5 separate regions of the Homo sapiens genome follow, and all the other regions are linked to region 1. Evidence: promoter capture Hi-C in 16 types of primary human blood cells and fetal thymus (Javierre and others, 2016). All regions are on one chromosome and are shown on one strand. Each heading gives the region's core, a stretch centred on a gene start or on the middle of the fragment in contact. The rest is flanking DNA. Distances are from core to core; before and after follow the strand shown.

Evidence for each region. The method cuts DNA at HindIII sites, captures the fragments that hold promoters and counts their contacts. A CHiCAGO score of 5 or more calls a contact.
Region 2: a contact is called between a fragment that was not itself captured here and the fragment with the promoter of THBD in region 1, in 1 of 17 cell types (endothelial precursors). The highest score is 5.2, in endothelial precursors.
Region 3: a fragment that was not itself captured here is called in contact with the fragment with the promoter of THBD in region 1 in 2 of 17 cell types (M2 macrophages and M1 macrophages); the score reaches 9.4 in M2 macrophages.
Region 4: a contact is called between a fragment that was not itself captured here and the fragment with the promoter of THBD in region 1, in 1 of 17 cell types (monocytes). The highest score is 6.0, in monocytes.
Region 5: a fragment that was not itself captured here is called in contact with the fragment with the promoter of THBD in region 1 in 3 of 17 cell types (M0 macrophages, M1 macrophages and M2 macrophages); the score reaches 7.0 in M0 macrophages.

The regions. Positions count from the first base shown.
Region 1 is chr20:23,048,389-23,050,951 of GRCh38, forward strand. It overlaps THBD (thrombomodulin), which reads right to left and starts at 1,284. Exons shown (of 1, transcript NM_000361.3): 1 at 1-1,284. The coding sequence starts at 1,116. The HindIII fragment of the contact is 6,749 bases long and covers 1-2,563 here.
Region 2 is chr20:22,324,653-22,327,215 of GRCh38, forward strand. No RefSeq gene overlaps it. Among named protein-coding and RNA genes, the nearest start is that of LINC01427, 43 kb to the left of the region's middle. The HindIII fragment of the contact is 2,086 bases long and covers 247-2,332 here.
Region 3 is chr20:22,348,122-22,350,684 of GRCh38, forward strand. No RefSeq gene overlaps it. Among named protein-coding and RNA genes, the nearest start is that of LINC01427, 67 kb to the left of the region's middle. The HindIII fragment of the contact is 3,014 bases long and covers 1-2,563 here.
Region 4 is chr20:23,628,804-23,631,366 of GRCh38, forward strand. It overlaps a transcript of CST3 not described here. Among named protein-coding and RNA genes, the nearest start is that of CST3, 7.9 kb to the right of the region's middle. The HindIII fragment of the contact is 348 bases long and covers 1,108-1,455 here.
Region 5 is chr20:23,610,229-23,612,791 of GRCh38, forward strand. No RefSeq gene overlaps it. Among named protein-coding and RNA genes, the nearest start is that of CST9, 5.6 kb to the left of the region's middle. The HindIII fragment of the contact is 961 bases long and covers 817-1,777 here.

The sequences.
Region 1 (2,563 bases), core at 34-2,533:
GGCTCTGAAGCACGGGTCCACGGGCTCCACACACTCGCCGTCCACCAGGTCGTAGTTAGGGTAGCAGTGGCACTCGAAGCCACCCTGTGTGTTGACACAGCGCTGCGGACACGGACTGGGCTCCAGTATGCAGTCATCCACGTCCTCGCACCGGTGTTGGTCGGCCGCCAGCCGGTAGCCGGTCTCGCACATGCACGAGTAGGAGCCCGGCTGGTCGGGGTTGGGAACGCAGAAGTGCTCGCAGAGGTCGTTGCAGGACTGCGTCGCGGATGCGGTGCAGGAGCGCCCGTCTGCCTGCAGGGCGGCGCCGGCTGGGCACTGGCAGCGGGGAGCCCCAGGGATCGCATTGCACGCGTGCTCGCAGCCGCCGTTCTCCACGCTGCAGTCCCAAGCGCCCGGCGCCTCCCTGGCCCAGTGCCCCTGGACCGCTCCGGGCGGCGCGGTGCACATTAGCTGTAAGCCGAGGGGAGCCACCGCGGCGGAGCTGCCCACCGGCAGCGCCTGGAAGTCCGCTCCGCGGGCCGCGAACGGGGTGCCGTAGGTGATCGAGACGGCGGCAGCCGCGGCGCCGGGCTCCACAGCCAGTGGCCTGCAGGTGGCTGGGAAGTGGAACTCGCAGAGGAAGCCATCGGCCTTCACTTCGCACTGCTGCTCCTCCCAGATCGGCTCGCTGGGCACAGTGGCCTCAGCAGCGGAGACAGCGACGCACAACGGGCCGCAGAGGGGAGCCCCATTGAGGTCGAGCCGTGCCCACCTGCTATAGCTGGTGTTGTTGTCTCCCGTAACCCACTGGAAGCCGCGCAGGGGCCCGAGGCGCTTGGGGTCGCCGCAGCCGGGTGGCAGCTGCAGGCCGATCCAGAGGCGCCGGCGGCCAACGCCGCCGTCGCCGTTCAGTAGCAAGGAAATGACATCGGCAGCCACCGAGGAGCGCACTGTCATTAGGTGGCCCCGCAGTCCGTCGCAGATCTGACTGGCATTGAGGAAGGTCGCGGGGCCCGGGTAGAGCGCGAAGCAGTCGTGCTCGACGCACTGGCTGCCACCCGGCTGCGGCTCTGCGGGTGCGGGGAACCCCAGGCCGGCCAGGGCCAGCGCGCCAAGGACCAGGACCCCAAGCATGTTACCCAGGCGCGCCGCGTGCAGGCGCCGGGGAAAGCGCGGGCACTGCGACAGGGCCGTGCCGGAGCAGAGGGGCACAGGACGCCGATGGCGACAGCCTCTCCTGTCCGTCCCAGCCCAGACACTTCTTGCCGCTGCGCGCAGCCCCTGCGAGGCAGCCTCTGACATGCGGATCGGCCAGGGCTCGAGTTTATAAGTGCCCGGCCCTCCCTCCCTGGACGTTCGGGAAAAGGAAGGAAGTGCCTGGTGGGAAGGGCTGATGCCGCATACTCGGATTGCTGGGTTCTCTGGCCGCCCTTGCGCCCGCCCTCGCGCATGGGATCACCTCGCCGGGATGAGTAAACCCTGCCCTGGCGCAGGGAGGTTCTCGGGCGGGGCCGACAGGGGCAGGCGCCAGGGAAGGCCAGCACCCCTGTAACAAGACGACTGTCCCCGCCCACCACTCGGGCCCCCACGCGTGCAGCCCTCTTTCATCTCTTGGTCCTCCTTTCTTTCTTTTCATACATGTTACAGCCACTTCCAAGGAAAGCCTGGATTGCAAGAGCTCTGGGAACCGGAGACTTCAGAGAAGAGGGCTTTGAATGGGGAGTGGGGGAGGTGGTGCACAGGACCTGCAAGACGCTGGGAGGGGTGATCGGCACCAAGGGCACTTTGGGAGGACCTGCCTAGGACGTGGACTTCCCCGAAGACAGGATCGCAAGGAGAGACAGCTGGATCCTGTCCGCGGCCAAGGTGCCTGGCTCAGGAAACCAGCGGAGCGCGCTTGGCCTCACAGGACAGTGGGTGTGGCTGGGGTGACGGGGCAGGGTGGGGAAGACTGGCCTAACACCAGCGCCCTCTGCCCCATGGCTGGCCAGGGACCCGCGAGTCCCTGGACACGCACTGGCCAACGCCAGACCCCATCTCATCGGGTGGGGAAGTCGCGGGGACACTGTCAGGGCGCCGAAGTCCGGACCCGGCTCAGAGGCGGTGGCAGGTGAATTGCTGCGGCGCCGGGTAGGGGCGGGCGCGTGGGAGCGAGTCAGCCTGGCCAGTTTCGGCCCAGCTTCCGAAGGATGGTGCTTCTTGCACCCCAACAGAGTGGCTGGCAACCCCCCAGGGGAGCGCGCAGGATCCCAGCTGATCCCACCCGGGTCGGCTAAGGAGGTTTCCATTTCGTCCAGAGTCCGAATTGATACCCACGTGCATAGAAACGCCACTTGCTCGGCAAAGGGCACTGAAGAGCCACCGTCCTGTGGATGGGCAGGGTGGGGGGGGGGCTGGAGGAGGACATGGGAATCCGTCACTTTCGACCTCTTCCGGTGGTTCACTTACCGGGAATGCGGAAGAGTGGGTCTCCCCCTCGGGTCGCCCCCATAATGGTGAGAGGCAAACTGTTTAAAAACACCCTTGCCTCTCTCCTCTACTGTCCTCACAACGAGCGCCAGGGGGCGGCGCTGTCGAGCTC
Region 2 (2,563 bases), core at 40-2,539, 720 kb before region 1:
CAGCTGTGGATTTGGAACAAGATTATGTTATGGGTGGCTGCACAGTCATGGATCTCTCATATGAGAATTGAGGGTGTGGAGCACATTTATGATTCAGAAAGGAGAAAGAAGGACTTGTGTGTTCAGGACCTTGGGGTAAGGTTAGAATAACACACTTTTCTATCTCAAGTTAACCAACTGGAAATTGGACTTCTCTTGAAGCTAGAGAATCCATCAGTCACCTGAATTAAAAAGAGGTGATTCTAAAGCTTTCATCAAGACCTGAAACCTTGATGCCCCAGAAATTGGTGCATTGGTCGGGTATGGCCTTAGTGGTGCTGTGGAGTGGATGGTGTTCGTTTGTGAGAGCACCCACTCCTAAGTAATAGTGATGGGGGCCCCTGTGTTCAACACCTTGCTCCTGCCTTTTCCCACATTTATTCAGCTCACAGACACATAAATCTCAAAGTCACCCACATCCACACTGGCACTTGTGCCCAGGCGAACATTGATAAAGTAGACTCTGCTTCATGGACTCTACCCACAGGGGGGAACTGGATGGAAGCATTAGGCAGATTATAATAAGCCTCACAAAATTTGGATTCATTGATTTTGTAACTTTGATGGCACCCAAATTTACCAAGTCTTGTCTGGATCCTTAGGATATCACACCAAGAAAGATTATTCCAAATAGGTCTACAGGTAATCAGTTATTCTCAAAGCCAGTTGTCTACAACTGAATTTCCCAAATCTGTCCTAGGAGGTTTGGTCAATGCCCAAGTTAATCAGATACCTTCATGTTCATCGGAGGCTAAGAGTTGCCTGTTAATATAATGCCTGAGTAAACAGGTGGTGTTAACTATCATAGTGATACTTTCCCCCTCCTTCATAAAACTTTAAAAGTCAGGCCATTTAGTATTACATTTATACAACATGTAAGGACAGACTGGAACAAATGGAATCTTGTCTAGTTGAGAAATATTAAGTTGTTCTCTATACCACCTTTCCACAAGCAAGTAAATCAATTCAAAGCATTCCATCCAAGAAACTGGAAGTCTCTTGATGTGCGTAGCTGTGATAGCAAGATTATAAATGGGAAAAATGAGGTATATATTTGAGAACAGTTCCCTTCTAACCCCTAGAATTCCTAAGATTATCACTCAGTGGTCAAGATGGTCATAGAAATATGGTTCTCATGGGGAAACCAGATGGCGGGAGCAGGGTTCCTGAAGAGACCATCATCACCGTTCCTAAGGAGTGCTCTTACAAACCAACAGCACCCACTCTACTCTCCACCCAGTTAATTCTGTCCATCTTTCAGTTTATTGCAAATCCCTCACCTCCATGCAGTTTCCCCTGATCCCTGCAGTGGGCCAGGCCTCCTGGTTACCTGCTCCCATGGCACCCTGCACTGCTCCTGGTAATACTTAGCAGAGGTGTGGTAAATCATTACTAGTGTAAGTTTATAAGCAAGGTGGGGATGGGGGTCTTGCCTGTATTATTTTCACACAATGTTTCTACATCATAGATTCTCAAAAAAAAATTGTTTAATAAAACTAATGGTGGATAAGTGAGTGAATGTGTGTGTGAACAAAAGTCACTTATATGTAAATGTCTGACAAGGAAGAGCTGAGTAAATGTATATTTTCATCTTTCCTCATATATCACAGTGTGGGGGACAACTAACCCCTCTACATGGATATTAGAAGCCAGGCTTGGTTGGCTGCTATGGAACATGCAAAGCCATGTGGCCCAGTGGAGTCTACAGAGAGGTTCATGCAACAACTTGCCCTTCAGTCAATTAACTTTTCTTTCAGAAAAAGTCCCAAATAAATTGGAAACACTTTGGAAATTTGCACTTGCTTCATATGAATAAAACAGAATGTGCAGTATTTTTCTATAAGAAACCCTTACCTGAGGTCAAAGGAATCTTAAATTATTTTTAAAAAATGAATTCTTTCTTGCAACAGGACTACATTTAAATCATGATAAATAAACTGAAAACATAAATAACTCCATTTCAAGGGAAGCCCTGTTCTACCCATTCTACCACCAGGCTGATTCTACTTATGCATGGACCAGATCCTTTCTTCTGCACATAATTACATCTCCACCCTGGCTTATCAAAGATGGAGACTGGCTGGTTGATGATTATGCCTACCTTGAAGATGTTCCTGGGCTTTATCTTTTTTTGTGGTTGTTCCATTCTGTTCTTAGAATTCTTTGATCTTATTGTATATTATATTATCTCCAGTATTAGGTCATATTGGGCCATAACATTGTCATTATTATTTTGAATTCTACTGAGATCTTGCAAAATTCATGAGTGCCTTAAATGTTCTATGCCTCTGTAAGCTTTTGATATAGTTCTATTGGTATTGTGATGGCAGTAACTGACTTGGCATTGATATTGGTATGTCAGGCGAGGTAGAAAGGGCACTAAATTGTGGACTAGGCTCCTGCTCTCAATTCCTACCTCCACCGTTATTGCCATGGAACCCTCAGCTCTCTGAGCTTCTATCTCTTCATACCTAAAATGAGGACACGGACTAGTCCTGAGGTTTCTAACCCTGGCAGCTCATTG
Region 3 (2,563 bases), core at 17-2,516, 700 kb before region 1:
TATTTGCTTATTTCCCAGGCAGTCCCATGGAGAGCTGAGGCTGGCTAGACACTGGGACTGACTGTTGTTATCTATGCCTGTTGTCCACGTGACAGCCAGGGCTAAAGACAAGACTTTCTGTCTCTATCAACAGCCAGAGTAAATCCTCATGAAACAATATTCGGTACTAGAGATACCAGCTGCAGCAGAAAATATACAGATCATAGGCACTGAACTCCAACAAGACACAATCTAGTCCAGAGATAGGCCGCAGGAGTGCAAATATCAGTTTATCACTTAAACTTGTTTGATGTTCTTGGCAGTAGTTCTAAGCACTGAGGAAGTAAGTCTAAATGGTCTTCAGGCAGCCAAGTTAAAGAGTATCCTCAATAATCCAATAATCTAATAATAATAACCACCTAGTGCATCCTTCCTCTGTGCCTGATTCATTCATGGCATTTTATGTTATCTTTTGTGAGTATATGACTAACTTCACTGTGCAGATGAGGCAGCTGAACCTCAGAGAGGCTGTTAGTTGCCTAAGTTTATGCAGCCAGTAAGTCACTTTGTAGATTCAAATGCTTCTATACCACTATAACATTTATAATAGCTATGATATTAACTAGTCCTGAAGAGGTTAACTTATGTTCAATATGATCTAATTGAAATGGCAGAGAAGTATGTAGAATATTTTAGAAGTATTTCCACTAGAATAGTAAAAATAATTTACTCTTTAGTGTTTTCTGGCAATGCAATGTAATGAAGATTTTTTGTAGGCAACTGGGAGCAAGAGTGACTTTAAATTCTGGCTCCACCAATTACTAGCTTTGTAAACTTGAGCAAATTACCTAACCCCCTGCACCTCAGTCTGGCATCTACAGAGTGGACTTAATAATCCAACTTTGGAGTGCCATGGAGGCACTGATGATAAACTGTGTTTGGAGCATAAAACACCTAGAAATGCATCTAGCACAGGGCAAGATGGAAAATTAAATTCGTGAGATAGTGATTAAAGAATGTGTTAATCTGGAAAGATTCTAAGGCATAGATATGCTAAAAATATATTCATATTCTGGGCAAGAAAATACAGCCAGTGTGGAGCACGGGGTTGGGGACTGTAGGTTTCTCATACTACTTCCATCACTGCAGAGTCATCAATAAGTTGAATTTGAAGGCTGGGGTAGAATCAGTAATCATTTTGGGAAAGGCAGGAGGCTCCGTGTTTAGAATATCATGAACCAAAGCTCCAGGATGAATAAGAAAAAAGAGCTGAAAAGAACAGTAAATGAATGTGGAAAACTTAGTGTGAGAATGAGAACATGGTATACGCAGGGAATGGGAGGTTGGCTTTTCGGCTACACAACATGGGTCGGCAGATGTTTTCTGTAAAGGGCCAAAGAGGAAATTGTTAGGTTCTGTGGGTCATACTGTCTGTGTCCCAACCGCTCAACTCTGCTGTTGTAGCAGAAAGGTAGCAATAGACAATCTATAACTGAATACATGGATGTGTTCCAGTGAAACTTTAGTTACACCAGGGGCCACAATTTTTCCACCTCTGCTATAGCTGATAGATTTAAAAACTAACTTGGAATGTCACCATGAAGAAATTCTCTAAATACAAAGGATCCCAAGAAAGCTATTAAGACCCTGAAATCCAGTCCCAAAAAATTTATAGGAAGAGATAATTATTTTTGGCATAAAAAATACATCTGTCTTACTATCTTCGAAATGACTCTGAGAAAAATATATTGAGCAGGGAAGTGTTTTTTTTTTTTATTCCATGTCTGAAAATATACCTCAAACAGAAAATTCAGATGTGTTAAAATGCTATTTCATCCAAACAGAGGCAGCAGTTTGGAGAAATAAAAAGACTCTGGAGCCAGAAGCTGCTGCTGAACAGAGAGGTTTATGTTTCAAGGGAGTGGAAATCAGGCTGTACCCTGAGTGTTGGCTTGGGCTGGCAACGGATTGCCCACTCACTAGGAGCTGGGCTTCCCAAGGAAGGGACAAGCACAAGGAAACCTTCTTTTCCTCTGCAGAGAAGGAAGCTGGGCACCTAAGCGGTTTCATGATTCCATGACTGGCTCATTGAGAATTTATTGGATGGATTTCACTCATAAAGTTTCTTTTATGGAATTCTAAGGGATTTGCTGGAAGAGATTTCTATGTGAAGGTCAAAAGGAGTAAATTATTTAGCTTCCAGAAGAGGCAGTGGTTACTATTCACAGACTGAACAGCGACAGGGAGAACTTTTTTCTGTAAACTCCATGAGGGGAGGGATAAAGACTCCGTTGCTCACCCTTGCCTCTCCATCCTATGGTTCAGAGCCATGAAGAGCAGACACTGCTGAATATGGGGGAGCTGTTTTTCACCATTCAGCGATATTTCTGCCTCTTTGCATAGCCAGTGAAATGGCTGGGCTGTTGACTGAAAGGATGGATGAACATTGCAAATCTTATCATTTCTATTCCTTGTATCCTCAGAAAAGAAGTGTTGTCCAATGACGAATGCTTGGTCTTAGAGTCTGGCCAGAACACAGAGGAAGAGGCCGCTCGGAGGACAGAGTGAGCTGCCCAGGTGGCCC
Region 4 (2,563 bases), core at 32-2,531, 580 kb after region 1:
TTGCAGCCTCAAACTGCTGAGCTCACGCAGTCCTCCCGCGTCAGCCTCCAGAATAGCTGGGAGTGCACCACCAGGCCTGGTTTCCTTGCTGTCTCTTCAGTTTTGTTGCTTCCCATAACTTGGCTTCATTCTCAAACAGGCTCCAAGTGGGCCCCAGACCTCAAGTCTTTTTTATCTTCACACTCAGCAGGGAAGGAAGAACCCACTTATCACACAGTCAAACAAAATCCCACCGTTAAGCCTATGTGGGTCCTGGGCAGCCACACATAGGTCACGTGTTGTCCTCATGCCAATCATGAGGCTTCAGGGGAGGGAGACCCGCTGCCCTGACCAGCTTAGCCAGGGTCAAGTGCTCCAAGCTGTGGTCCAAAGGGTAGAGTCAGCTTCCCTGGAAAAAGGCGGAGTGAGAGGGGAGGAGGGGTGAATCCTCACGGGGAAACTGCTATTGTTGTTGTAAGAAGGTGGGGCAGTCATGGCTTGTGAGTCAGACGCTGGCCGCTGGCCTCAGAGGTGTGTTTGGTAATGATGCCTCCATGCATACAGCATGAGCTGCCCAGTCAGAGAAGGCACAGAGCCTGTGGGGTAAACACTTCCCAGCATCATTCCCTGCCTGGTAGCCATTCAGGAAAGGCAGCATTTTCCTCAGTCTTTTCATCAGGGTCCTGGATTTGGGTAAAATAAATAGATAAATAAATAACTGTTGCTATTAGTGATCTCAAGTCCCTCACAAAGAAGGTGGTCCTGTTCACTAGGAAGGCCTTTGGTTTATAAGCACCTTGATGGGTGTGGGGAAGTCTACAAAGAGCTGAGTGGTTCTACCCCACAAAGGAGCCTTTGGACTTGCTGAGGGACTCAGTGGAGAGGATGCGTGGACAGATGGGGAATGCCACGGCGAAGAGCAGGCAGGGGAACAATCAGGCCAGTGACTGGTGGGGGGGGGAGGGGGTGGAATGTGAAGGTCAAGTGGCAACTACCTTTGGGAGGGAAGCCAAGGGCATTTCAAGGACAGAAATACCCAGTGCTGGGTTTGAGGAAGTGGGGGTTACTGTTCCACAGGGCAGGAGGTGATTTCCTGAAATCACCGACAAATTTCATTGCCCCAAACAAAGCTTTGGTGGAAGGAATTTCCGTTTGCTTTTGCTTTGTTGAGTTTCATTTACTGGAAATCAAGGGCTACACGTTTGCAGAGATACCTGGCACGGAAAGTGTGTCCACAGGCAGATGTGACCATGAGACTATCTTTACCTGCTGCAATTTGCAGATGTTTTAGGAGCAACTGGACTTTGACCAGGACTCTAATTGAGTTATAGTCCAGTGGTTCCTTGGGGAAGCAATGGGAGGAGTATTTAAACATCCAATGTCCACGTCCCATCCCAGAACACGATCAACTTTTCCGACTGGGATCATGGGATTGCCATGTGCAGCCAGGCTCCCCAGTGACGCCATGTACAGCCAAGCTTGAGACTAGAGTTCAGATGAGCCTGACCTGGTCTCAAGGGAGCCAGAGCCCCAGCTGATGTCACAGTGGCCTGAGCACATCTGACTCGACCCCATAAGCCTCAGGTGACAGGATTTGGAAGTGACCCACTTGGCATCCCAGCACCAAGGGTGAGAGCAGGTATGGGTAATTAAAGGAATGTCTGTTCCCTATTTTAGTCACCATTGTGTTCATGGCTTCTCAGTGTTGTGTCTTTGAGCAGTGAACTCAGACAGCACAGCAGAGCATAAGGAGAGGAAGGGGTGACTAGCTGCTGTCTTCCTGGGCCTCGTCTCTCCAGCTTCGCCCTGGAGTTATGGGACAGGGCTGGCGATTTGCTCTCTCTACATCTTTTAGGGAGGCTTGTGGCCTAGTCCAAGGTCACTCCCGTCAGCCAATCATAAGCCAGCTCTCCTCTGTCTCTCACAGCCACATGGGTGGCAACATCCCAAGCCTCTAAGTCCATAAATAATAAACCACCAAGGCAGAGTTAAAAAAAAAAAAAAAGGCAAACTCAATAGTCTTCTATTGAACTATTAACTAGTCTATCAGTAAAGACTAGAGGTACAATACTTGGAAATATCCCTGACCAAAATATAAAATATCCAGGAATAAATTTCACAGAAAATATGAAAGATGCATAAAATTTATTCTACTGAATACCATCAGAAAAGCAGGAAGGTATTGCAAGATGCATGGTATTCTAAAATGAAAGGCTCAAATGTTAAACGTTGTCAATTTTTTTTCCTAAAAAAACATAATATTTCTACTTATTGAACCTGAAAAAACAGTTTCATTTGGAGGAAGAAATACATTTAGAAAACAAAATTTTGGGGGAATAAAGAATAAAGATATAAAAATATTACCTAAAAGATACAAAAATATTATATTTAAAATGGAGTAATTAAAAAAATGGAAAAGAACAAGCCAGATTTAGGACTGAGATCCTGAAACTGACCTATGGTTATGGAAATCTGCTGTGGGTGTCAGCTGGAGCGGCTCTGGGCGGTCTCCTGTGGAGACTCCATCTTGGATGCCAATGCTGAGCCTCAGTCCCATCAATGCTTCTAAGATTTCTATTTCATC
Region 5 (2,563 bases), core at 47-2,546, 560 kb after region 1:
ATGAGATCACCTCCTTTCAGTTTTATTAGGGATAGCTGTGCTGATGATTTTCTTTTCTTTATTCTTTTTTGAGACGGAGGTCTCACTATGTTGCTTAGGCTGGTCTTGAACTCCTGGGCTCAAGTGATCCTCTCTCCTTGGCCTCCCAAAGTACGAGGATTACAGGCATGAGCCACCACGTGCAACCTGATTTCTTTCACCATATAGATTTTTCTTAAAAATTGAAGACGGTTTAATGTATCAATGTTTTGTTTAGGGTATGTGCTTTTGTAATTTTCATTTCAACAATCCTTTCCTATGCTCTTCTATGTTCTGTTTCACCATGTTCTTTCTTTTGCTTTTCACATTTATGTGTGCGATCCAACTGGAGGCTAAGTGTGTGTGGTGTGAGGTTGGAATCCCAGGATCGATCGTCTGCCCCACCACCTGCGTGCACAGCTGGCTTTTCCAGCATTGACGATGGAGCAGTTCATTCTCCACCCTCTGATTCCAACAGCATTTCTATCGTAGTCCCCTTTCCCCAAAAGGCTGGTTGCCTTTGAGCCTCTTTTCTATTGTACTGGCTGTATGAAGGAGGCACAGGCCTGAGCTAAGAAGGTCATTGTTTGATCTTGGCCAGGAAAGGAAGAAAAATTCTTGGGCACTTCCCAGACCTAGGCACACTTCCTGGGCCCTACCTGCTAGAATAGATGGGTCTGCTCCCTGGTTCTAGCCCCTGACTCCCTGCCACACCCTCCCATCATCGGGCTGCTGCTTTGCACTAACATCCTCTCTTTGGGGCATATAGTCTGATTTTGGATCCCAGCTTTTCGGAAAAGCTTCATGTATTGGCCATGATTATTGATGCTACTGTTATCGTCACAAGCACCTCACCCTGCAAGCTCACCGTGCCCTTCCTTCATTCTTTGGAAACATGAGATTTGTTCTTGCGGGCAGCTTGTCTTCCTGGGAAGTTGAAATTACCTTTTTGATGCAGACAAGCACTTGTCCTGAAGAGTAACGGGAGGAACCAGGTGTCTATCACTGAGAGGCGGGAGTGCAGAACTGGAGACAGGATAAGTGGGGCAATCTTGACTGATTGCAAGGAAATAGTACTGTTATTGGCTCCATTTGTAGAGGCTGGAGTCTTTAGATGACTTGTATGGTTTATAGACTCCACGGAAGGAGGCAAAGCAGTAGTTGAGGAGGTCTTTGGAGTTGGGCACATGTGAGTTCAGGTCTCATTTGCACCTTTTACTAGTTGCATTTCCTGGGGGCACATTTCTACTTTATGTGAGCTTCTGTTTCCACAACCGTGCAATTGGACTCTTGTGATTTCTCCTTCATGGAGCTGTCATGAAGATGAATGGGGAGATGTATGGAAGGCACTGGCAGGAGGCCCAGCAGGACCAGGCCCTCAGGAGATGGTGTTTGTGCTGCTCATTCTCATCACCAGTTCTGGGGGGAACATCCCTCATGAGCCAGGCTTGTTGATGACAACCTTCTCAGCAGTCAAGTGGCAGAGGAGATGAGGAGGGACCCAAATGTCCAAGCTCCCACCAGGGGTAGGCAGGCAAAAAGGAGGAGCAGAGGATTCTATGGCTTGTCAGCAATTACCAGGTTCTCTGGGACAGTGTAGACAGGGCATGGAAATGGGATTGCATTTTACTGTTTGGCTTTGAGTTTAGACTTTTGGTCCAAGTCAGGTTGGGATCAGAACTCAAGAGAGTATCTTCTGGATAATTAAATATAATGATTATCTCTTCGAAAGGCTCTGACAACCAAACTCACGTTCCCAAGCTTCATTTTAAAGTGTTGAGATGCTTGGGCTCACGTCCTTGTGTTCTGCCTTGTAGCTGGGAAACCTGGTGCACCTCAGTATTCCTAAGCCCCCTTTCCTCACCTATGGTTTTGGATCAAGTTTAGCTGAGAGATCATATACAGTGACACTGTGTGACCCCTTACAGTATGATTTGACCGTTTGCTGTTAGAAGACCCACTATCCCCCATCCTCATTCTGAAGTCAAAACAGCATCCGGGCTCCTCTTCTTCTCTATTGGGAGCAAGTTTTATTTTAAAATAAAATCAGGGATAAGTGCCAAATGTAATCATCAGCTGAGACCCTCAAAACCTTTTGTTCCAACCACTCTAATTTCTGTCACAATGGCCCCTTGTCACTGTGAGCCTTTCTGTAGAGGGTATTTGGGGCTGTCTTGCCTCTGACCACTTCATGCACACTGATCACAGTGTTCTCAATACTTTTCATTTTGACACTTTTGGGCAAAGTTTACCTCTACTTCTTTGAAAACATTCTCTTTAGACTTGGCCAATTTGACAAACGTGTTCTTTCTGCCTTCTTTAGTGGTTGTCCAGGCATGGACAACGGCTGCTTTCTCCTGGAACTGATTCCATTCAGAGTCCTTTTGGCTTTCTTGCAATAGTTTTCCTTTGATTCAGCCAAATTTTCCACTTCTTCAATAAGTGTTATTTAGAGATCAACCTCAAATCTCCAACACTGGCACTTATTTTGAAACCTTAAGCAGTAAATCCATGCCAGAGATAATACTTCCTTTTGGGGGACAAA